4 separate regions of the Homo sapiens genome follow, and regions 2, 3 and 4 are each linked to region 1. The links are contacts of gene promoters, found by promoter capture Hi-C in blood cells and fetal thymus (Javierre and others, 2016). All regions are on one chromosome and are shown on one strand. The core of a region is centred on a gene start or on the middle of the fragment in contact, and the rest is flanking DNA. Distances in the headings are between cores, read along the strand shown. Region 1 holds the start of AGPS (alkylglycerone phosphate synthase). Region 2 overlaps PDE11A (phosphodiesterase 11A). Region 3 overlaps PDE11A (phosphodiesterase 11A). Region 4 overlaps PDE11A (phosphodiesterase 11A).

Evidence for each region. The method cuts DNA at HindIII sites, captures the fragments that hold promoters and counts their contacts. A CHiCAGO score of 5 or more calls a contact.
Region 2: a fragment that was not itself captured here is called in contact with the fragment with the promoter of AGPS in region 1 in 1 of 17 cell types (fetal thymus); the score reaches 7.9 in fetal thymus.
Region 3: a fragment that was not itself captured here is called in contact with the fragment with the promoter of AGPS in region 1 in 1 of 17 cell types (megakaryocytes); the score reaches 5.4 in megakaryocytes.
Region 4: a fragment that was not itself captured here is called in contact with the fragment with the promoter of AGPS in region 1 in 1 of 17 cell types (M2 macrophages); the score reaches 8.6 in M2 macrophages.

What each region holds. Positions count from the first base shown.
Region 1 is chr2:177,390,930-177,395,408 of GRCh38, reverse strand. It overlaps AGPS (alkylglycerone phosphate synthase), which reads right to left and starts at 2,636. Exons shown (of 20, transcript NM_003659.4): 1 at 2,360-2,636. The coding sequence starts at 2,619. LOC100130691 (Putative uncharacterized protein FLJ44553) reads left to right here and starts at 2,718. Exons shown (of 9, transcript NR_026966.1): 1 at 2,718-2,836. RefSeq lists silencers at 914-1,208, 2,417-2,636. The HindIII fragment of the contact is 4,249 bases long and covers 1-4,142 here.
Region 2 is chr2:177,753,510-177,757,988 of GRCh38, reverse strand. All of the region lies in intron 10 of PDE11A (phosphodiesterase 11A), which reads left to right. Among named protein-coding and RNA genes, the nearest start is that of PDE11A-AS1, 82 kb to the right of the region's middle. The HindIII fragment of the contact is 1,653 bases long and covers 1,832-3,484 here.
Region 3 is chr2:177,733,532-177,738,010 of GRCh38, reverse strand. The region is part of intron 10 of PDE11A (phosphodiesterase 11A); the gene reads left to right. Among named protein-coding and RNA genes, the nearest start is that of PDE11A-AS1, 62 kb to the right of the region's middle. The HindIII fragment of the contact is 4,569 bases long and covers 1-4,148 here.
Region 4 is chr2:177,710,152-177,714,630 of GRCh38, reverse strand. PDE11A (phosphodiesterase 11A) reads left to right here. Exons shown (of 20, transcript NM_016953.4): 13 at 2,753-2,862. All of the region lies in intron 4 of PDE11A-AS1 (PDE11A antisense RNA 1), which reads right to left. Among named protein-coding and RNA genes, the nearest start is that of PDE11A-AS1, 39 kb to the right of the region's middle. The HindIII fragment of the contact is 1,909 bases long and covers 1,203-3,111 here.

The sequences.
Region 1 (4,479 bases), core at 1,387-3,886:
CAAAGACCAGGGCTTCCCACCAGCTGTAACCTATGCAACAAATGGGTTACAGTCGTGCCTGAACTATCGATGCCTTCAGTCCTTGGAGCAGCCACACAGGGCATCCCTGACCAGTCACCTTCAACCATCATCTTGGTGTGCCTTACAAACGTTACTATTTTTTCTCTGAATGCTGTAAACCAAGCCATTAAATCTAACCATAAGGAAAACCTGCCCTCCTTACTTGGTTCTAAGAGTGTGAATCTACATAAAATGTACAATCACATATATGCATACAAATGAGAACACATAAATGTACATGAAACCATTTAGAAAATTTTAAACCTAATGACAGCTATTAATAATATAACCTCAATTGAAGCCAGGAGACGAGATGAAATCCTTTATTCCTCCCCTCCCCACCACTCAGTAACCAAGTTATGGAAAATTTACCTCCTAGCATTTTCTCAATTAAGTTGCCTACTCCCAATAATATGCCTTAGTTCAGAATCCCAGCATTTCTCCCTGGAATAATAGTCTCCTAGTCTCTCTGCCTTTAGACACTGTGAAAATTGCAGCTACCATTCTTTGAAAGGTTATGTAACAGGCATTGCACTAAACACTTGATCATTTAACTCTATTTTTTTCAATTCTCACAGCAACACTGCAAAACAGGATTACTGTTCCCGTTTTTACAAATGACGGTGACTGAAACTCTCAGAGGTTAAGTGATTTGCCCAAGATCATAGAGCTGTAACGGTGTAGTGGAAATTGAAATCCAGGTCTATGTTCCCAGCCATTATACTGCCAAAATGCTCAACTGTCTTCAATTTGCTCCCAGTGTGACCTTTATCAAAGGTAAATCTAATCATGTATTGCCCCACGTAAAATCCTGTAAACAAGATTCACCTCTCCAGTCTTCGTCCCCTGTCATTCTCACCCTCTCCTACTACACTTGAGTCTCAGCAGTTCCCTAATTTGTCTCTCACTTCTTTACCTGTGAACATACTGTTTGTATGCCAAGAACAATTTCCCCCTTTGGCAAACTATTAGTAATGCAAACATCCAAAATTTACTCAGACAATCTTTACTTTGGAACATCTTTGCACTAACAAACACAAACCCAAAACTGGGTTAAATGACCAGGTGGTATAGTTCCCAGTTAAGTTTCTTATAACGCTGTATTATAATTTTACCTACTAAGCTATTCCTTCCTTAAGAGTAAATACCGTATTTTTAAATTTCTGTATTGCTGGTACAGTGTGTATTTTGTAAAGACTCATGTATGTTGAATTAATTCATCAGAAGCAAGTATAGCTTAGGAACTTGGCCATGAAGTCAATTTGATGTGCTTTCAAATTCTAACCTGTCACACAGCATATCTGCTAAGACTCCAGCAGACTTAATTTATTCATCTGTAAAATGGGAGAAAACCGCACATACCTCATAGCTTGGGAAGAAACAAAGGATTTAGCACACTTTGGCACACTTAAAAGTACACTTTAAACATTAGCTACTTATTTTTTTCACTCTCGGTTTATCCATTTATCCACGGTGACAAAGCCACACGTCAGAAAGTAGCTTCTCCTAATAGCCTTCATCAGAGATTGAGGAGATCGAGACCATCCTGGCTAACACGGTGAAACCCTGTCTCTACTAAAAATACAAAAAAAAAAAAAAAGATTTCTCCAAAAACATCGAAAGTCAAGATCTCTTACAAACATCCCTCATCGGTTAGACTCTTGTCTTTTAGCTTCTGGTTACACAGAGCTCAGTAGCTATACCACCACACCTTAAACCACTAGCTAGTGTTTGCAGTTTATGGCTTCTTACCATTCATCGGTTTCCTCCCTCAAAGTCAATACATCTTGATCCTAAGCAAGTGGAACTTACCCCACAGAAACCAGTCAGCACCTTTTTCCAGGGCACCACCAGTTTCCCCCACAGCAGGCTTTCGCGAATGAGAGAGATTCCTATGATCTATCATCTAGTACAAATTTATATCTCCTCGGAGAAAAATAGAACCTCTGCTACCCATTCCAAGACCTCAGCACCAAAAGTATTAATTCAAGATAAAAAATGAATTCCTGGCACTAAAAGCTCAGGAAAAAGGAATCCTTTAAACCCTTCTCCAACGAGAGTTCTTCAAGCCTGTTACCCTCACATAGTGACCAAAATCCACCATCCCATCCCGCCCCCTTCCTGACAGAATCCAGGGTCTAGTCCACTCTCTCGAAAGAGAGGTGGGTCCCTACTTTCAGGGACCGGGATGCCTTCCGCCCACCCGTGTCACTTCCCTTCCCACCTCGCCTGTGCCCTCCTGCAGCACAGGCCCGGCCTGGTCCCTCGACGCTAACTCCTTCCACATACCGCTACTCACCGCTTCTTTGGGATGGTGCCCGACTCCTGCGCGGCGGGAGTGGCCGTGGGCGCTGCCGTGGCCGCCGACGCGGCTCTCCGCGCTTTGCACTCATTGGTACTCAGAGCCTCCCGGGGCCGGCCCAGCAGATGGCCAGAGAGAACCCGCAGCCTCCGCCCGGCGCGGTCCGGGTCCGGGTCCCGGTCCCGGTCCGCTGCAGACCCGTAGCTCGCGCCCGCGCCCAAGCCAGTCCCACCCGCTGCAGCCGCCGCCTCCGCCATGGCTACCGCCTTGTGCTGCCGCCCGGAACCGCTGGGCGCGGGTGAAAGGTCACTCAGAGCGGCGCCCGGCGCGACCATTCGCTGCGGCGCATCCCGGCAGCCACCGCGGCGACTTGGCGGCGGGTGCCATGCGTCTGGAGCTTCACATTCTCTGCCCCCCACCCACCGCGCCGGCGCTCCCTTGTCACGCCTCGGGAAGCGCGCACCTGCCAAGCAGGTGAGTTCGAGCTGACTCCCGGTTGGCCCAGCCCGGTCCAGCTGGACCGAGAGCCAAACCACGTCCGCCCTCGAGGTGTCCTAGAACCCTGGGTGGTGTCCTCGGGTGTGGCCTGGGGGCTTTCGAGGGCAGATGCCTTGGAGCAGGAGAAATGGGCAGTGCTACTGGACCTGATGGATCCAGCGGCATCCTTTTCCTGAAAGAGATTCTAATGTTCCACCTGTGCTCTTCCTCCCTGCGGGGTCACCAAAGTAACTCAAAGCTGACCATCATTGCCTCTAACCATTAGAGCAAATAGCTCTATCATTTTCTTATTTCTCACCACCTATTTCGTGCCTGGCACTGTGTTTAATGCTAGATCACAAGTAAGTACAGAAACTGAGTTGCAACTTAAGTTCTCATTTCATTCATTACTGGATCCTAACCCCTTCCTAACTTTAATAGAGATAAAGTTTCTTATTGCTACAGACAAAAATTACCCAAGAGCTGTGAAGACATCTCAGTTATTTACAGATTGAATTCATTTCTGGAAGATAGCACGTGAAAAGTGCTCCTCACCTGTTTCAGCCGGTGTCTTGCATAAGAATTAGCTTAGACAAAAACTCACATACACTGGCCATTGTCATTCTCCATCCTGTCACCACTTTCACATCATGCTTTCCTAACAAGAAAAATATTGGCAGAGGAATCTGAAGAACACCACATCCATGGGACTAGAGACTAACAATTGCTCTCTTGGGTGTTGCCAGCTTCTAAAATTGAGATTATGCCTTTAGAGTGAACTTCCAAAGAGGCCCAGACTGGTTAAAAACTCTCAATTAAGGGCTAAGCAAATTGCTGTTGGAGGGCCAGCTCTAGTCTGTGGCCTGTTTTTACACAGCCCTCATGCTAATGGTTTTTGTATTTGAGAAGGGTTGTTAAAAGAAAACAAGAAATTTTTTAAAAGAATATGCAACAGAGACCTTATGTGGTCCCAGAAGCCCCAAAATATGTATTACCTGGCCTTTACAGGAGGTCCGAATGTCTTCTGAAATTTATATACGAAGAGATACCAAACCATTGAAAACAGTCCAAATGTCTAGCAACAGAGAAATGGTTAGTCAATATGTTAAAATACTTTTGCAGCTATTAAAATAATTTAGTACAGTTGTAGAAACAAGAAAGAATTAGGAATTTGTTAAATATAAAAAATGGCCATAACCTAGGCATCTTATACGTATCTATTTAATCAATCTTTGCAGTAACACAATGACACAGTTTTATTATCCTTATTTTATAGATGAAGGCTCAAGGAGAGTAAGAAGCTTTTCTTAAATAGCTATATTTTATCTCAAATATCATATACTTCATGTTATTGTCCTTATTCCACCATTAGAGTTTGGGGCCATTAACATTTTACGTTAAAATTACTTACGTAGGCTTGGGGTTTTTGTTTTTTATTTTATAGATTCTAAAATTGAACTTTCTAAAATAAATTTTCACTTTAATTATAAACTATACTCCTGGTTCTTAAGGATTGAGTTCTGGGAAGAATTTCAGAGATTGCCACCACAGCTATCACGACCTCATTCATGAGGTGCAAGAACATGAAACACATATAGCACTTTCCTAGGTATTTATGACTGAAAAAAGAGAATCTTTAG
Region 2 (4,479 bases), core at 1,409-3,908, 360 kb before region 1:
AGACTGTCATGTAATTCAGGATGATGTTTCCATCCAGGGCCTAAAGCATTTCATTGAGACTAAAAGGAATTAGGCTGTGAACAAGTCAGAATTTTAATAAAAACTGCAAGTCTGTTACAGTCCCACTGTAACAGAAAACTCTAGAATCGTTTCTATAAGACCACATGGTAGAAGGGATCTAAGTTCAAAACAGATTTCACCTCATCCCCCCAGGCTGGGGGCCCCAGCATCTGGCCTCATACTGGCTCTGAAAGCCTTCCCAGAGCAGCATCCACAGGTACTTCTTTACACTCACTATAATCAAATCCACACCCACGAAAGGTGAGAGTCTGAGAAGGGCTGGTAAGAACTTACAGCGAGGCTCTGTTCAACCTATCCAGGGATAAGAGGCTTAAATACTGTTCTGTTGTTAAGCATCTACAAGTGGACGGACTTTAAAATACATTTCCTGGGCTTTCTGTAGGATAACATGATACCAATCATTATACATTTTCAAATATTGCTGTTCACTAAGACAAATGCTATGATAACCACAGCATTTTTGCTGATTCTAAGTGCTTTCATAGCTCTTATTTCATTGAATGTTAACAGCAAGCCTCTGAAGGAGGCATCAGCGGCTCTATCCCATTTAAGGATCAGGCAGCTAAGAGAGATGTTACACTGCCAGTTTGGAGACCTTGGTTCATGCTGCTGAGGCCCTTTTCTTGGGCCCCAGTATATGCTCAGTCTACTCCATGTGACAGTCATCTGGAAAATAAACATTTACTGAACATTTTACCAGCTGCCAGGCCAGTTTTTGGTGCCTTACCTGTATTAATTTATTTAGTCTTCACAAAAACCCTACTATTATTTTTCTTATTTTACAGATGATAAAACTGAGGTACAAAGAGAAACGCCCAGGTAACTACATTGCACACATTAAGAAATTGAGATATGGGTGGGCATGCTGAATTTGTAAGATCCTTTTTGAAATGTCATGGAATGCGTTTTGTTTGAGATTCTTCTCGTCTTGGCTTGACCCTCCTTATCGTCTGATTGTGAGCCCTTGAATAATCTTGGTTTACTTTCTCGATAGATGGGTTCAGGTTTCAACAGACCTTGCTAAGAATGTTTTGGTTTGTTTATGTGTTCGTTTGTTTGTTTTAAGGTTACATAGTTTGAAAAGTAATCCAGCCCCATTGCTTGAGCAGGTATGATTCCTTAGCCTTCAACATTCTAGAATATCAACTTCAAGGGACATGTTTGTGGGCGCTAACAGCACTTATTTTCTCCAAAGGGCAAATTTCAAACAATTCCTGTGCTGAGTGATCCCATTCCTCTTGCTACTAGGTTCATTTTCCTAACACATACTATAATTCACCTCTGGCCTTCCTGGAGATGGAGACGAGTTCTGTGAAAACCAAGCTTTGTGATTTCTGTGGGAACAGGTGGCCGTCCTCAACACTTGGGCTTAAGTTTGTCAAACAACTCCGTAAACCACTGAAGCTGGCTTTTGAGGAAAACCACTTTTTACTCTTCCCCTCACCACCAACAGAAAAGATTTAGAATTCAGAAATGAACGAGAAGAGAGTGAGAGGCTTTCTGTGATGACATTTCTCCAATATGAATTTAAAGGGAATTTCTTTCCCTTTAAAACCATGAAGAAATTTATGCTTCTGCCTGAAATATCTTTTAAACCATCAGTGGTCTTCTTGAAAACAGCTTTACTCCGGTTCTCTGAGGAGTTGTGTGTGAGGGCAAAAGCTGGTTATTTTGATAACCCCTGAAAGACCAGGGGCCCACTATTCTAGTGTTAGCAGTGGCCCTGTCTGACCTGGGGTGCAAACAAGCTTCTCTCCCAACAGGAACTCTTTCTCTTATTGTGTGGTAAATTCATTAGTGGGAAGGCAGGGTTGAAATGGCCCCAAGGTCCCAGATGTAAAATCTCCTTCCTCTATATAGTATGTAAAAGCCCAAAGTCTTCCCAGGAAGTGTTACAAATGAGAGCGTAGTGCACACCAAAAGGAAACCCTGCCCCACAGAATGGGCTCCTGCAAAACCATCTGCTACCCTCAGAGCCACTTGGTGATTCCTGGGGCTGGCTGCTGTGACTCTCCACTAAGCACCCAGGTGGCCCCTTGGGCCAAATATGAAAAGCCTCACATTGCACATGGAGCCCTTGGGTACTCACTGCAGACTGGCTTGCTCTACAAAGGGGTAAAAGTGGCCTCTGGCAGAGCCTGGGTTTCTCATCTTTCAGCAACCCCTTCTAGAAGGGAACTATGGAGTCCCAAGTTCCAGTTTGGAAAATATCAGGGACATTTTCTGATTGGTCCGCTTGGCCCACTTGGTTCCCCTGTCCATCCCTGGACCAGTCAACTGTGATGAGGAGTGTGTGCTTAGGAAAGTGTGTCAGTTGGAAAAATCAAATCCAGGTGGAAACATGGGGTCGCAGCAGAAGGAGGGCCAGTTCTAGAAAGGAAAGAGGTACCTGGTGGATGGTATCATAGCTGTCCTTCACAGTACATGCAGGTAACTTTTGCATGACCCCATGCCCTCTTTTATGGCAGGCAGGCATTTCCTGGGATACAGGCAAGATGCTCACAAGAGCCTCTTCGTAATGTCTAGAAACTGGGTGACACCCACAAGTGATCGCTCTGTCTGCTGAAGTGGTTCCACAAGTGATGTTGGCTATATAGCATTATTGAAAAGAATGTTCTACTATGTCCTTAAAGCATTTCTATTTCCACAACTAAGTAGAATCAGGGGTGACCCCACTGATGCTCACCCTGATTTGGCTCTCAAACTTACCCAAATATTATAAGGCAAATAAATATAACTTCCAGGGACATGCCAATTAAATTGGTCCAGGAACTCCTCACTAATGACTAGCCCATCAGGTCATCTCAGATCAGCCTCTTTCTCTTGTGTTTGAACACTGTAGTCTCTGATATATAGAAAAGCCCCCTGCAACTGGATCAACCAATAACCCACAGATTTCTTCTAGTCATTTCTTCATGAATTTATTGGGACCTGCTGGAGAATTAAGGAGATCAGACAGGCCAAACATCCCTAGATCTGATATTTGAAACTCATAGTAAAATAGCTCAATTCCTAATCTACTTCCTGGCCTCATTAGAATTCAATTAGTAGAAGGACATTCCTTCCTAGAGGCTCGTTGGCAGATTTGTGTGTGAACAGTTAACCCGGTGTTAGCAAAAGCAGTTACTTGTATCCAAACAGCTCTCTCCAGCTGCAAAGCTGAACCCCAAGGCTGTTTAGACAGGACTGTGCTTATCCTCCCACCAGGATGCAAATATTTTAAGTGGACAGAGTGAGATAAAATGCAGCCAATGCTGCCCCTGACACTGACCGCATACTGTGCCTGCTGGATTTTTGGACTTGAAGGTCAGGGGAGGAAGGTGAAGGAAGGGACGCTGGAGACAAGGAAGCAAAGAAAATCTTCCATGACTTTGTTGAAAATTATTTTCCAAATAAACAAGCTTGGGCTTTAAAATGTATGAACACAAATTCTACCAAAGTATGTGGAAATACCCATATATTTCTTGAACAGGAAGAACTGCTCATCAGACCATAAAAAGCAGGAGATCTGAGGGTAGGACAACCTTGAGTTTTTTTGTTTTTTGTTTTTTGTTTTTGCATTTTTTTTGTCTGCAGTATTTTCTGCAATGTTCTTCAGATGCCTGAATGTAGACTCAGGGAGATTTATTTTTCTTCTGACAGGGTATGTTATAGTTGTCACTCAGCCTTGAAATAGTCTTTCCCTCCAGTGGACCATCAGGCCAGTAATATATTTGCGTAGCTCTTCCCAACTGTCACTCCTCTGCCAGCCTTCATGCGTCAGCATTGCACAGTATGCCTAGCCAGCCAATGGCAGGCTTTGAAGCTGCTGCCTTTAAGGAACTTGTTTTCAAAATATTCGCAGTCACCCAGCAACAGGAAAAGGCATTTCATTGGCTCTCTCACTGTCAGCTGGAAAGGAGGATGATCCAGATGGGCCTCAGCTGTGAAGATCAAGATTAGACATGGGGGGCGGGGCAGATATTTGGACACAGAAGCCTCTCAGTGGCAAATGTGGTATTTTATAAGTATCAGATGAAGCAATGCTTTCATCCATAAAAATCAAATGTAAAAAATGTGACACCACACCAGGGCAGGTAGTTTTCATCTGCAGTGTCATAGGATGCATACAAGATAGATGTTGGCCCCCCCAATCTTATCTGCCTGATAAAGGGAAGTGCTGCTGAGGGATGGGGAGGGCCTCCGTGGAAAGTGAATTAGGGCTTTTGGTGTGGAAGCAAGCCTCTCTCTGCTAGGACTAACATGCCATATAGGGTGGGTATTCTAAATGCAAAGCAAGTCCCCAAAGTTACTCTATCACTAACTGATCCTGTGAATTATCTTGCCCTTAAAAAGTTCGTCATTCTGCTTGACTCTTCAGGCTGATTTTTCTTCCTCAGAAAAAAGCAAAGGAGAGAA
Region 3 (4,479 bases), core at 615-3,114, 340 kb before region 1:
ACTCAAATTCACCAGGGGATATTGTGGCATGGTTTGGGAAAAACTAGTAAGATGACTTCCAGCAGGATTATCAAGCCTTCACTCATTCATCTGATAAATATTTAATGAGTTTCTCCCATGTGCCAGTTACTGCCTACAGTGGTGAAGACTGCAATGAGCATTTAGGACACAACAGTAAACAAGACAGACGTAATTCCTATCCTTGTCCATCAGACTTTCAACAATAATTACACAACATATTAATGATGGACATCGTTAACCACTGCCTTGGCTCTCAGGAAGTTTTAAGCTGCTTCATTTCAGCTTCCCAACCTAGTTCAGGTGTAGAAGCCTTCTCCACCTTCCACTCCCACCCTCCCAGCATTCCTGTAGGTTGTAGGTATCCAGAACCCTGCCCCTCTCTCTTGGCTTTTTTTTTTTGAGACAGAGTCGCCCAGGCTGGAGTGCAGTGGCGTGATCTCAGCTCACTGCAAGCTCCGCCTCCCAGGCTAATGCCATTCTCCTGCCTGAGCCTCCCAAGTAGCTGGGACTACAGGCACCCACCACCACGCCTGGCTAATTTGTGTGTGTGTGTGTGTATGTGTGTGTGTATTTTTAGTAGAGACGGGGTTTCACTGTGTTAGCCAGGATGGTCTCGATCTCCTGACCTCGTGATCTGTCCACTTCAGCCTCCCAAAGTGCTGAGATTACAGGTGTGAGCCACCGCACCCAGCCAATAATGTGATTTATTTTATTTTATTTTATTTATTTATTTATTTTTATTTTATTTTGAGGCAGAGTTTCACTCTTGTTGCCTGGGCTGGAGTGCAATGGCGTGATCTTGGCTCACCGCAACCTCTGCCTTCCGGGTTAAAGCGATTCTCCTGCCTCAGTCTCCAGAGTACCTGGGATTACAGGCATGTGCCATCATGCCCAGCTAATTTTTGTATTTTTAGTAGAGACAGGGTTTCTCCATTTTGTCAGGCTGGTCTCGAACTCCCGACCTCAAGTGATCCACCCACCTCGGCCTCCCAAAGTGCTGGGATTACAGGTGTGAGCCACCGCACCCAGCCTCTTTCTTGGCTTTATTAGTGTCTTTAGGTATTGTGTGTTTGGTGACTAAGCAAGGGTGCATTACCCAAACAGGTGTCATTTCCATTGGGTGGTCAGTGGTTGAGGTGCTGGATGCTAATGAGCTAAAGTCCTTACCGCTCTTCCATGGGAGGAAGAGCTGGTGAACTCTTGAGTGCAAATAATGAGAGGTTTCAACTTAAACATGGGACAGTCCATGGATTCTGATTCAACTGTCACTTAGCTTATGGGAGCTCCAACATGGGAGTCCTTTGCCTCCATGGGGGTCCTTTGCTAGGTGCATCCACTTTCTAGGTAAATGCACAAGGATCAGCAGCCATGCTCCCAGGGGCTGTCTCCTTCCCTCTCTTTCCTCATTCCTGTATCTCTGTGAAAGGGGGAAATTCTTCTTCCTCCTCCCTTTCTTTTTTTTTCTTTTTTTTTTCTTTTAGATGGAGTCTCACTCTGTCACCCCTGCTGGAGTGCAGTGCTCGCTGCAACCTCCACCTCCTGGGTTTAAGCAATTCTCCTGCCTCAGCCTCCTAAGTAGCTGGGATTACAGGTGCCCACCACCACACCCAGCTAATTTTTGTATTAATTTTTGTATTTTTAATAGAGACGGAGTTTCACCATGTTGTCCAGGCTGGTCTCGAACTCCTGACCTCTGTTGATCCACCTGCCTCGGCCTCCCAAAGTGCTGGGATTACAGGCATGAGCCACTACGCCTGGCCCTTCCTCTGTTACTTATCTCCCCCGGGAGCACGTCCTTCCTTCCTTCTGGTTCTAGAGTACTCTCTCTTTTTCCCTGGTTCTTTCAAAATAGATAGACCCATTAGACCCAGAACCCCACTCAACCGAAAACAAATTCCTTTTCCCTGGAGGACACAAAGGGTTGCTTGGTCTTCAAATATTCCCAGGAGAGGAAAGAAAGGGTTCGCTGTTGAGTGCAGCAAAGAAAGGGAAAAGGAAACACTGACAATTGCTTTCCCATACGAAAACGGCCCAAACATTTGCCACCTGCCACAACTAAAATTGGGACCAGAGCTTCAAAGGGGAAGTTCTGGGAGGTTTGGCCATAGAGAATGGAGACTGGTCACTACCAGGGGTCAAGGGAGCCAACCTGGCATGGACAGCGAACAGAAGTCAGTCCTGGAGTCACAGGCAAACCAGGCGCCTGCACTGTGGTCCAAGGCCACTGGAGCTTGGCAAAGCGGATGCCCTTTACTTGGATGAACTCAAGTTTTACAGTTGTTTAGGCAGCCAAGGGGTCCAAGCCTATTAGAGGAAGTCTTGGATCTCTGTGAACAAGCACTGTTTTTTTGTTAACAATGGGGCCCTGTCTGTGCCTCCTGGTATTGCACCATCTTCAGGGGAGATTGGAACTCTACTCTGTAGTGCTGTTCTCCGCCATGTTTCCTTATTCTCCTGGTGAACTTGTATTCACCCTCCAATGCCCACATTAGATGATCCTCCTCCATTGTGCTTCTTTGCATCTCATACGCTCATTCCTGTTGTTGCCTCTGAACTTTATGCTTCTGGTTTTTTGGGGTTTTTTTTTTCCACGAATCATTGTTTTTTCTTTCTTCTTGGGTAGGCCATGAGCATCTCAGGAATGGAGTCCACGGCTTTTCTTAGGTTTTGATACATTCTCTATGACCTTTAAACATTTTTTTATCATAGTAACTATTTTTAACTGTTTAAATTACTAAATATACTTTATAAAGCTGAGGTTTAATGACAGTTTGGAATTAAGGCAGGAACGTGAAGCCGAATGTATTTCACTAAACTCTCCCGGGGGTTCCTGTGGTGCCCCGTGTTTCCCCCATCGCAGCTCTTAACCCATACTGTTCTGTAATTGCCCGTTTGCTTCTCTGTATCCTCTGACAGGCTGCGAGCACAGGGACCACACTAATTTTACAAACATAACTACAGCATATGCCAGTGCCTGGCGTACAGTTAGATGCACAATACATATGTACTGAATTAAAATGGATTAAACTGGGCGGTCTCCTGGGGCAGAGGACAGAGCTTGACTCTTCAGAGTCTAGTTACCAAAATCTTCTCCACTCACCCTATCCTTCTATGGGGCTGCTATCAGTATAAAAATCATAATGAGCATAACAACAACACACCAACATCAAGCGCCATCATGCCAGGCACCGTTACTTACTATTTCCTATTTCCAAGCACTGTGCTAGGCTCTTGTGTGCATTATTTCATTCACTCCTCACAACAGCCATGCAACACAATTTTGTGATTGTTTATACAAAGAATGCTCAATCTGAGGCTTACTTTAGTTTCTTGCCCACTGCCACTCAGCCAAGTAAGTGTTAAAGGTAGGATGAGAGCCCATATCTGTCATGAAGAGTGTTCTAGGCAACTACAAGGCAAATTTAATGAATGGCATCAAGAGAAAACAATTGCCAGGAGAATTTAAATCCTACTTTTTTTTAAGAGATGGGGTTTCGCTGTGTTACCCAGGCTGGAGTGTATGCAGTGCCTATTCACAGGCGCGATCATAGTGTATTGCAGCCTCAAACTCCTGTGATCAAGCAAAAACTTACTTTTTCATAACATCGCTGTTCTGCTAATACTATTTATCTCCTCGTTTGTCACCTCCTCATTGTTTGCTCCCCGAGAAGACAAGTTATTTTTTCAGCATGGTCTTGGGAGTATTCGAGTTGATTCTGGGTTAGCTACAATCAACACAAAGTAACAATTTGGGTTCATTCCAAAGTCAGCTCTGAATTTGGAGACTTTCCCAAGGAGTTTTATATAGGTAAAGACAAAAACATTGTCCCTCACATAGGTCCAGGTTGCTTATAATAAAAAACGGATTGAAAAGCTAGTCATCTGGATATAAATCCCAAACTCCAGTCATGGTGCACCCAAGTTAGTTTGCATAATACAGAAAGGGGGACCCTCGCTTGGCATAGGCCCATTTTGAGAGGCAGTGTGATGGTTAGGAGCCAGTCTCTAGCACAAAGCTCCCCAGGTTCAAATCTGCCTCTGACAATCACACTGCAAATTTGACCAACTTATTCATTATTTATTTCAGTTGCCTCATCATAACATGGAATTAAAACTATTCCCAAGCTTTTAGGGTTCTCGTGAACATCAAATGAGTGAGTATATGCAAAGCATAACACTAAAACAGTATCTGGCACATAATAAGGGCTATAATTATATTGGCAAAAGAAAGAACTTTGCTGTCCCTTCCACATCACCACAGCTCAACCTCCTGTCTCCATTAATCCCAGAATCGTAAGGCTCCTGACTACTGCTTTTTGTCCAGAGGATTAAGAGAGTGAGTGGGCTGGAATTAGCAACAAGTCAATTTTCCTTTGAATTGCCAAGGCTGGACTACCACCCACTTTGTTGTTTCTTCCCATTTTCTGAGCATCACAAAATGTAATATTCATGTGTCAA
Region 4 (4,479 bases), core at 908-3,407, 320 kb before region 1:
GTGTGAGGGGAGGGTGACCATAAACTCACCCGCTGCTAGACGTCGCCAGTGTTCAAGGGCAGATTCTGGTGAAAGGATGCTAGGAGCTTGCTCCCTTCTGCTATGCACTAGCTGGGAGACCCTGGGCATATGACTTAGCCTCTCTGTGACTCAGTTTTCTCATCTATAACTGGGGACAGTAATAGTTTCTACCTAACAGGACTGTTATGAGAACTCCATAAGTTAAATGGCTGTAAAGCTCTTAGAACAATGTATGGTACATAGAAAGGACAATATGAGTACTTGGTGAATAACCAAGTGCTAATAATATGTGCATGCTATATAGAAATATAGTGGGGGGCTGGGCGTAGTGGCTCACGCCTGTAATCCCAGCACTTTGGGAGGCTGAGGCAGGTGGATCACAAGGTCAGTAGATCGAGACCATCCTGGCTAACACAGTGAAACCCCATCTCTACTAAAAATACAAAAAATTAGCTGGGCGTGGTGGCGGGCACCTGTAGTCCCAGCTACTCAGGAGGCTGAGGCAGGAGAATGGCATGAACCTGGGAAGCGGAGCTTGCAGTTAGCCAAGATCGCGCCACTGCACTCCAGCCTGGGCGACAGAGAGAGACTCCGTCTCAAAAAAAAAAAAAAAAAAAAAAAAGAAAAAAGAAAAGAAATATGGTGGGAAAACTACGAATTTAGGTGAAAAAGAAAATAGAAAGTAGTTGCCTTCAGGAATCAAGAAAGGAGAATAATGAGGGACTACTGATTTTTAGTTCTAAGTCTCAGTATAATTTGAATTTTTTTAGTTACTGCAGGTAATAATTTAAGTAAAATAAAATTAACTTAGAAAAACTAACAGCCAACTGCAGATTTTAAAATGAAGGGCATATACAAGCTTTTTTGTTTGTTTGTTTGTTTGTTTGAGATGGAGTCTTGCTCTGTCGCTCAGACTGGAGTGCAGTGGTGCCATACAGGCTCACTGCAACCTCTGTCTCCCGGTTCAAGCGATTCTCCTGCCTCAGCCTCACGAATAGCTGGGATTACAGGCGCGTGCCACCAAGCGAGGCTAATTTTTGTATTTTCAGTAAAGATGGGGTTTTGCCATGTTCATCAGGCTGGTCTCGAATTCCTGACCTCAGTTGATCTACCCACCTCGGCCTCCCAAAGTGCTGGGATTACAATTTTGAGCCACCGTGCCTGGCCGGCATATGCAAGCTTTGACATGGACTATTTCATACTCCCAATTTATTAACATTCCCATTTGCTATACAAATGAAGTTATATGTATTTCTAAATGTAGCAGTGGACCCAAGTCTATTTATTAAAATAAAATTGTCAGCCAGGCGTGGAGGCTCACACCTATAATCCCAGCATTTTGAGAGGCCGAGATGGGTGGATCACCTGATGTCAGGAGTTCGAGCCCAGCCTCACTAATATGGTGAAACCCCATCTCTACTAAAAATGCAAAAATTAGCTGGGCGTGGTGGTGGGTGCCTGTAATCCCAGCTACTGGGGAAGCTGAGGCAGGAGAATCACTTGAACCCAGGAGGCAGAGGTTGCAGTAAGCCGAGATGGTGCCATTGCACTCCAGCCTGGGTGATAGAACAAGACTGTCTCCTAAAAAAAAAATAAAATTGTCAACACAGAAACCTGTTATTCAGTTATTTCTGCAACACAAACATAACCAATTTAAAAACAAAATTTTCATTTTACTAAGAGAAGTGTCTTACAGGTGTGGGCCAGTGATCCTAGATTTGGTGGAAAAAAACACATGAAAAGTGAAGCAATTTGTACCCTAATCCTCCCCCTCCTCCCACTCTCTGATAAAGATTTTAATAAGTAATGAAATGGGAGACTTACAAAGTAAAAGAGGGGGAGATATAAAGGCCTTCGATCAAGAAAATGCATAGACCTGCATTCCCAGAGGTCCACTTCCTCTTCTAAACTAATGAAAGGGCCAGCAGCAACCCAAGAAGCATTGCTGCTGTTGATTACATAATTATGTCAACCTGCTTCTAAAAGAAATCACATCACAGCTGTGCATTTCACCAGCAAGCTACCACAAGATAAGAAAAAAGAATTCCCAGTAATGGATACCCCACTCAATCCTCAGTCTGGGTTGACAATCCTCTGACAAATTCTGGTGTCCATGACATGCACTGCCTTATTATCTGTATGAATTTCATCTGTCTACCAACCTAATATGAATTAGGGTATTTACAAGATAACCTCTAGGATGTCATTGTATAACAATTTGAGTATGTTAAAGTGTCTCCTTTTAATGTTAAAAAAAAAAAAAAAAAGAAGGGTTGTGTTCTCCTTCTGCCTGCTCTCATTTGGGTGGGATCTGGCAGGTGTAGTGTTCACTTTGCAATTCACTGCCCCTTCCTATTCCCCAACCTCCAACCTCCAAACCCTATGCTCATCATTAAAATGTATAATAACAAAACACATTTTGCCCTGGGCCTTTGCTAAACTGTCACTGTCTCTGGATAGTCCAACCTTCTCTCTAAAAAGGGAACAAAATAGTCTGAACTATGTCCCAGTGTGGCAGCGTGGGCTGCTGTGACAGCAAGCTAATTCATCACTGTGGGGACCTTAGGCTGTGCAACTGACCACCCAACTTACTGTTGTCTGAGGGAGTGGCAGTTAATCATCTCCTTAAATGATGTGGGTATGAAAACAGAGTTGACTGTTGCTCAGCACCTAACCTTATCCATCCTCCGTACCCCAGTAGTGACTGTTGCCATTTTCCCCTTCTTCCCAGACTGCTGGGTTTCAAGACATTCTGACCGAGGTGGAAATTTTAGCGGTGATTGTGGGATGCCTGTGTCATGACCTCGACCACAGGGGAACCAACAATGCCTTCCAAGCTAAGTAAGTGTTCTAAACTGTTGTTATTTTAATGCATTTGCCTTTCTGTTCAGAGCCAAAGGTGACGAATGCTAAAGAGTAAAGCATTAATTTCTGGCATCCGAGGCCAAGGCCATGCAGGCTTGGGCGTGCATGTCATGGGGCCCATCCATCTTTATAATTCCCTATTCTTCTTTTAATTGCAGATTTGCCCTTCATGTCATGCTTGTTGATTTGGTCGGTCTCTGTTGACCTTACTCAGATAACAAAGCTTGGATTTTAAAGGGTCTACTTTTTTCCTCCCAGAATATTTGCCTTTATGGCGTTATAAGCTTCTTGGACTTGCTACTCTCAAACTCTGGTGTGAGACTGTTAAAATAAAAGCAGTCTTAGGAAATTTGATGAAGCAAAATATAGTTTTCCTTCTCCAACAGAGTCTCTTCCAGGATTCTTTTGATGTTGGGTATTATATAAACTATAGTAAAATAAAGCCACGTTCAAGGAATATAGTTTTTGCTCCTCCCATTCCCTACTCCCATAGAAAGGTGGAAGAAACAAAGGAATTACAGAAATACAGGGATGTCTGGGCAACTATTTGCCACACACATGATGTGTATAGATAGAATAATCTGTCCCTAAGCAGGTTTTCCTGGTCAAGATAGCTGTTGCTTTGTGGCTCATACTGTGGCCAAGGCCACAGAACTTATGGGTGCTAGAAATAAGACCAAAACCCAGGTCTCCTGACTTGTATATTGAGAGTCTGCCGTTAATGTTTCTTTCACTGTCTGCCTGCAAACAAAAGACAGAGGCTTTCAGAGGCTGGAGAGAAAAGTTTTGGGGTAGGGAAAGTAGAGAAGGCCTCAACGAAGAGGTAAGATTAACTTCAGATGACTGATTTCACAGCCTCTAGAACAAGTCAGCCTCTATTATCTGAAACTTTCACAGTCTGCTCTTTGTCAACAGGTTCTTTTCAGCTCATCATTCTCTTTTTTCCTCCAAACATCTACCCACTAAGACTTCAGGAGTCTTGGACTCTTGTATTTACTCCTGATCTAGCAGATGAATTTCAATTTTGTGCCCTCTGTCCAATCTGTATCCTATAGCCCATCACTTCAGTGCTCTCTTCTCAATATCCTATCATTTCCTGACCAAGTCTCTGTGACATCCACTCTGCAGAAACTCAGTCCTGGTTCAGTCTAACAATTCAGTCTCTTGCTACTCTGCCTAGACTTATAAAAGCTTTAGGAGAAAATGTCACAGTTGTGAGAGTTAGAGACATACCAAATATATATTCCTCCCACTTGGCTGGACGCTAGAACTCGCTGCCAGTCTTTCTGTGTCCCTAGCCAGCCCCATTCCCCATTGCTCTTAGCAGTTTCATATACCAAACTTGTGTCTTCCAAAACCACCTCCTGCTCCCCCGCCTCCCCCGCACCACTCAGCAGATCACCTTGCCTCCTACTTCACGGAGAAAATTGAGGCCATCAATCGAGAATTCTCTCAATTTCCTCCCCTGCCACCTACAAACTTATCTGTCCATCCCCATCCTTCCCTCCTTCCCTCCTATCTCGGTAAGAGGGCTGTCCTTCCCTCGTCCGAGGCTAATCCCTCCACCTCTGCCTTGGACCCTTCCTTGCTTCT